Regions from separate parts of the Homo sapiens genome. Here region 2 is linked to region 1. Evidence: promoter capture Hi-C in human tissues and cell types (Jung and others, 2019). All regions are on one chromosome and are shown on one strand. The core of a region is centred on a gene start or on the middle of the fragment in contact, and the rest is flanking DNA. Distances in the headings are between cores, read along the strand shown.

Region 1 (3,386 bases), core at 246-2,745:
GGAAGTCAATTTCTGAGCCTCTAAGACTGGCAAGTTGGGTATAAACAAAGGAATGGCTGATTTGAAATTATTTTGCCTGGCCATCTCCTGCCCTATTCAAAAAATGATACTACAAATTACATTTCTGCCTTTTCAGCGGTTGCACACAAGGGCCTGCCAGGAGCATTTTAATATTGCATTTTACAAACTGAACTCATGGCAACTTCTCTCTGGGCAGAGTTAAGTGTTACTCTCCCAGTAGAAGCTCTGCCTACGTTTTATTAAGCAAAGCTCTAGGCTGAAGGACCCTCATGCTCAACTTCAAGTACCACGACTATCTTGGATTTTGCAAACTACAATGCGGTATTTTTTTGGCAAATGTAGTTTCCTAGGAAAGAAAGGAACTGGTCAGGATGAACGAGTGGATAAAAATGTGAGCCAGGTCGAGCTGGCTCCAGCATGAAGTTGCATAACAGCAAAAGCTACTTTTCCACTAAATCTAAGCAAAAATTGTGTTGTAGCCCAGGAATTTCAAGAGAGGGTTGAGGACACCAGGAGGCACCCAGATGAAACATGTACTGTACAAATAACACCCATGGAGTGAATAGAGCAAACAAAACATTTAAATGCTAACAATAATATATAATACACACCACAGTAATACACACACCCAGACACACAGAAAAATAACACCAGACCCTGTGGTCACGGGTGTACACGACAGGGTGGACCCAGGACAGGTACACATTCAAAAACGCGCAGCGGTCATGGTCCCATAAGCTGTACCAAAAAAATGCATTTTCTTCACCATTTCCCATCCAATTAGATAAATATAATAAGCCGTGGGCTTTTGATTCGTTTTGAAGTTTCATACACTGACATTTTTGTTCGAAGATCTAGGCAGATCTTGCAGGATTCAAGCAAAAGGTGGTAGACGAAAACACGCCCAGAACTGCGAGGGGAGGGGGAGGTCACCTGGAACTCTGCAACCGAATCAGCGATTGCCGAGCTTAGGTGGCACTCGCTCTCAGCAGCAGAGGTCCCAGCCACGCCGCTGGGAGGTGGAAGCGATCCGAGGCTCCCGCCCCACCTCCCAGACCGACACGTTGACACTGGGGGCTGGACCAGGCGCTGGCTGGGGATGCTTGGTTCGCCCGGAGATGGGGACTTGGAGAGGTCCTGGTGGGCTCCTAAGGGTCGGGGTAGCTGCCACCACCCCTAGAGGGCTCTCCGGGCAGGCAAAGAGTGGGAGGAAAGGAGACCCCACCAGGAGGGGGCAGGTGCACCGGGCAGGCAGTGGCGCGGGGGCTGAGCCACCGAGGGCCGAACGTTAGACCAAGAGCTGGCAGGAGGGCGGCGGGGGCTTCGGGTCCCGGCTAAAGTCAGGGCACAAGCTAGGTGGCCCCGCGCCCAGAGTCACTCACCATCCTCCAGCGCTTCGTGCACCAGCAGAAGACCAAGCAGCAGCCAGACCTTCATCTCGGGAACCTCGGACCTCGGAGCGCAGGAGCGCGGCGGCTGCGCGGGGCGGGGACGCAGGGGAGGCGGCGGGCGAGGGGCGGGCTCCTGGGACGCCGAAGCGGGAGGATTCGGTTTCTTCAGGAGGAACAAGGTTTGGGGGAAAAAGTTGGGGAATTTTTTTTTTTTTTAGTTCTCTGTGTAATGTGACTTCTCCTGCCCCCTGGCGGAGCCGCGGTGCGCAGCACTTCTTCCCAGCGCGGGGAGGAAAGGCTAAGCGTGAAATGTACATTACAACAGCCATTCCTTGAATTTCTCCAACGCTTGGCGTTTTCACCAAGGTTATCAAGTTCAAGAAGGATCAGCGGGTGCTGATGGGGTCACTTTTAACCACGATTGTCCAAATGTTACCAGCGCCCGCCCCACCTCCTCAGGCAGAACCTGAGTGCTCTGTAAAAAGTGCTTCCTAAATTATTTCTGTTCATTCCATTTCTCTCCCCCACATGCACTCACTCACAGGACCGTTGCCCCGGGTTCTTGCTGCTCCTCTGTGTCTGGCCAGAGTTGGTCTCCGCACCCAGCCCTGTAACTGCTGGTGGGGGTGGGAGGACGGGTTCATTACAGGAATAACGTGGAAAATGAGACTGTGCAGACAACCCGGGCCTCTGGTGGTGAGGCAGGAGAACAGGGAATTAGGGTAAGCACGGGCTAGGGTATGAGCAGGAGAACAGCAGGTGCAGCCAGTTCGCAGAAGCAAAAGATCAGCAGGTGCAGACAGTTCTAGGCATGATTAGGCGGCACACAGGCCACATCCTCGCTCCTCTGATAACAAGGCAGAAGTTTCCACTTCAGCCTCGGACTGGTCGCAGGCCAGTCCTTCGTAAGGTGTAACCAGTTGGAGGCCTCTAAAGGGAACCCAAGGGTGTTGCCAAGTTCTTTTCGCTTTATAAAATCCCTGGGGAGCGTCAGGCTCTTGTGGCTTGCTGCAGCGCCCTCTGTGAATTGTCTTCTATAAATCTACGTTTTCCTTCCTCCCTTCTGTTGCTTTGTTTTTCCTTGCTTCTTTCTTTCGTTACTCCGTGCATTTCGTTCAATTTTTTGTTCAACAGGCCAAGAACCTGGACAACTCTATCAGGTAACAGTGGGGCAGAAGATACGGGCTTTCACAAGTCCCTCTGCAGAGAGCCATCCTGCGTTTCTGAGCTTGCAGACTCTCATGATCAAAGCAGTTTGCTAGCGGGGGAGATGCCTGTGTGTGTTCCCCCGGTGAGAAGCAGCCCATCTCATTGTAATCTTCAGCACCAGGCACTGCTATTAAAGGGAGCTCAATTCTAAATAACAGGAAAGGGACTTGTCCCTCAACACCCAACGAAAGAAGTGCTGCCATTTATAACAAACTAATGCTTCTCAGTCACTTCTGCAGGAGGAACCAAGAATTCTATATTCTGTTGCCAGCTCTAGCCGGAGCTTTGCCACTCGCTTGCCTTGCGATGCAGAGAGCAGTTGGCTGGGAATAAAGACCAGAGTTCAGATGCTGACACTGGCACAAACTCTCCATGCCTCTCAGAATTCACTTAACCTTCTGGGTTTTAGCATCTCTTGTTTATTAAGAAAGGGAACTAGGTGATTATTTCAACAGGAGTTTGCTATGTGATTAACATTACGGCTATGAAGGTTGAGACATCATCTCTCATGGCTACTTTTAAGGAGTGAACAAGCATTTAGACCACTGCAATGTGGTGTGTCAGGTTCTGGGGAGAATTCTGAGCAAAGGACTTGGAGCATGCACACAGGAGAGAGTAAATCTGCCTAAATTGCCCCACCGTGAGATTTCTTTTCATTCTGACCCCATGAATTGACTGCTTAACTCTCACTCCATGTTGGAGCCTGGGGTTGGGTCTAGATTCCTCCTCTCGGTCGCAGTATCCCCTCCATGCTGACTATGCATG
Region 2 (3,386 bases), core at 502-3,001, 46 kb after region 1:
TGAATTCAACTTATTAGCTGTTCAACAAACTGTCAGTTTCTCTAAAAGATCAAGACTTAAGACATTTCAAAAAAAGCAAAAAAATAATCTAAAGGCAATTTCCAAACAAAATTCCAGGAGGCAAGGGGATACAGGTACAAAAGGACAAGTAAACTGGCCATTACCATAAAGCTTGATGTCTGTGGGTAAGGGAAGTCCAGGGTACTACTGGCACACACAGGAGGGGACTCCATGCTCACACTGGGATTGGGGTCAGGAGGCAGCAGGGAAGCTTTCCTGGGGAAAGCCATGACTAATCTGATTCTTCAGCCATTATTCCTCCCTAGAATTGCTGGGGTTTTTTTTTTTTTTTTTTTTTTTTTTTTTTGAGATAGAGTCTTGCCCTGTTGCCCAGGCTGGAGTGTAGTGGCGCAATCTCAGCTCACTCCAACCTCCGCCTCCCGGGTTCAAGTGATTCTCCTGCCTCAGCCTCCCAAGTAGCTGGGATTACAGGCACCGCCACCACACCTGGCTAATTTTTGTAGCTTTTTTAGTAGAGATGGGGTTTCACCACGTTGGCCAGGCTGGTCTCGAACTCCTGACCTCAGGTGATCTGCCCACCTCAGCCTCCCAAAGTGTTAGGATTATAGGCATGAGCCACCGTGCCCAGCCACATTTTTTTATTAACTAAGAAATATCCATAATCTTTAAGACTCATTTTGAAATTTTGACAATTTATTTAATCAGTCACTTCTAAAATCAATTAGAAGTCCAAATTTTCCTCTTTGTTACTTTACTTGAAACAATTCCTTCCTTGGAAAAAGATCTTGAATTTTTGCACAAAAATTTAATGGCAACTATAGTTATTTCCCTGATAAGTAGAAAAAAAAACCCTTAAAATAATCATATTAGTCTATAAAGTCTTAATCAGAAATTCCTAAAAACATGCATTTTGATTTTTAATTCTGAATAATAATAGCTTAAGTTACTATAAAATTTAAAATTCAAACCATCTCATAAATATAAAAACTATTTTGGAATCATTGATCAATAGGAATTTTAAAATATTTAAATAAAGTGTGAAAAGTAGGTTTTACAAAGAATATAATTCATAAAAATAAAAGGCATTAGACACCCTGCAATCTAAGCAAAAATTTAAAAAATATATCCATATACACATATATCATACTACTCATGGAGTTTCTCAAATTTCTTTTTAACAACACTCATTTTTTAATCTTTTGTTACCCCAAAACGAAACCTAAACTATAACTTATTTTTCTGTCCTCTAAAACCTTTATAGTGGCCTTGTATTACATACAATATACGGCCATTGTACAGCTGCAGTATTTTCAAATAAGAAGACTGTAAGAAGAGAGAGAAACTCCCTTCCTCCCCGCTCTTGCTGCTTCTTTATAAAGAGGAGTTTCATCTGACCTTCAGGTCTTTCAGCACTAAGATGCAGACAGAGAGAGAGATATCCTATCTTAGGCTCTGAATTACACCATTTCCAGGAAACCAGCCCTGTTATCTCCCAGCCCTGACTTTCAATGACAGAAGAGGAAGCAATTATTTGAAACCACACCGTATGGAGATTTGTAAATGAATTAGCCTTCCTTCATTTTAAATACGCTTAGAAATATTTAGAAATATCAGCATACTTTAAAATAACAATTAATGCTTATTAAATTTAAATTATTATATAAAGAATGAGATTTCAGTTTTAAGGCTTTGAATCTACTTACTGGCTGGATGCAGTAGCTCACACCTGTACTACCAGCACTTTGGGGGGCCAAGGCAGGAGGATCACTTGAGGTCAGGAGTTTGAGACCAGCCTGACCAACATGGCGAAACCCGTCTCTACTAAAAGTACAAAAATTAGCCAGGCATGGTGGCACGTCCCTGTAGTCCCAGCTATTCAAGAGGCTGAGGCAGGAGAAACGCTTGAACCTAGGAGGCAGAAGTTGCAGTGAGTCGAGATTGCACCACCGCATGCTAGGCTGGGTGTCAGAGAGAGACCCTGTCTCAAAAAAAAAAAAAAAAATCTATTTACTCACACTTGTACCTAATCTGCCTTCTGCCAACTAACTTCAGCAACTTGCCTGGGTTTCCAAACCATCCCTCTGTGACCTGGCCCCAGCCTGGCTTTCTAGCCCTGCATGTTGCTATTCTCCAACGAGTACTGTAGCCCAGTTTGTCCTCCTACTACCCTTAGCACATAAGTCTTCTGGCTCACATAAAGGTGAAAAGGTTTTGACTGAACTGCATGTATCCAGCTGCCCCCACCTTGCCCCCTTGCCCTCTCCCTCTGTCCCGGCTCCCAGGCCATCCGAGCTACTGCAGGGACACAGCAAGAAGGTTCTTTCTTATCCTCTCTGTCAGCTCCTGAGCTTTCCTTCTGACTCAAAGAAGCAGCGGCGGACCGGGGATGGGGGGCAGGGGGGAACGTAGAAAATTAAAGCTAAGAAACCAGGCTTATTTATATAGCACGGGGTAGGAGGCAGGGAAAAGCTAGCAGCCTGAAAAATGAGAACCTCCCGCTCATTCACCTGCCAAGAGAAGCCGGCAAGAGAGATAAGAGGGTGTGGAGAAGTGCTGGTGTTGAATGCAAATGGGGTCTCCTTCAAGACGTATTAGGTTGGTGCAAAAGTAATCGTAGTTTTTGCTACTGCTTTTAATGGCAAAACAGCAATTACTTCTGCACCCACCAGCCTAACACAAGGGAAGGTTGAAATTCCTTTTCAAGGGACTTTTGGCAGCTTCTTTGAAAATGTCCCTCTGGGCCAGGCGTGGTGACTCACACCTGTAATCCCAGCATGTTGGTAGGCCAAGGTGGGCGGATTACTTGAGGCCAGGAGTTCGAGACCAGCCTAGCTAACATGGTGTAAAACCCCATCGTTACTAAAAATACAAAAATTAGCTGGGCATGGTGGTGGACACATATAATCCCAGCTAATCGAGAGGCTGAGGCAGGAGAATCTCTTGAACCCAGGAGGTAGATAGAGGTTGCAGTGGGCCAAGATCACATCACTGCACTCCAGCCTGGGTGACAGAGCAAGACTCTATCTCTCAAAAAAAAAAAAAACAAAAAAACAAAACCAAAAACAAAGAAAATGTCCCTCCGTAGAGACTGAGCCCCATGGCACTTGGGTAGGATTGACACTTGCTTATACAATGTGTCCTCTTGCTCCCCCATCCCCAATGAAGGGAAAACTGCTATATATATACCATCACTTCTAAATAGTATTTCGCTGGCCATAAATGACTGGCAATTGAGCCCTAGAAATGAGCTTGATAGAACAAGTCAACTAAGGGCAGCAGAGAGAACATTAAGAAAAGGGAAGAGATGGTTGTACGTACACAAGACGTGTGGTTAAGGACAATTACTGTGATTGCAGCAGACTGTA

The links. The method cuts DNA at HindIII sites, captures the fragments that hold promoters and counts their contacts. A contact is called where the count stands out against the background at its distance.
Region 2: a fragment that was not itself captured here is called in contact with the fragment with the promoter of PDGFRL in region 1 in 1 of the 25 tissues and cell types used here (aorta).

The regions. Positions count from the first base shown.
Region 1 is chr8:17,575,325-17,578,710 of GRCh38, reverse strand. It overlaps PDGFRL (platelet derived growth factor receptor like), which reads right to left and starts at 1,495. Exons shown (of 6, transcript NM_001372073.1): 1 at 1,404-1,495. The coding sequence starts at 1,458. RefSeq lists silencers at 1,090-1,139, 1,230-1,289. The HindIII fragment of the contact is 19,467 bases long and covers 1-3,386 here.
Region 2 is chr8:17,529,211-17,532,596 of GRCh38, reverse strand. The region is part of intron 2 of SLC7A2 (solute carrier family 7 member 2); the gene reads right to left. Among named protein-coding and RNA genes, the nearest start is that of SLC7A2, 34 kb to the right of the region's middle. The HindIII fragment of the contact is 3,060 bases long and covers 222-3,281 here.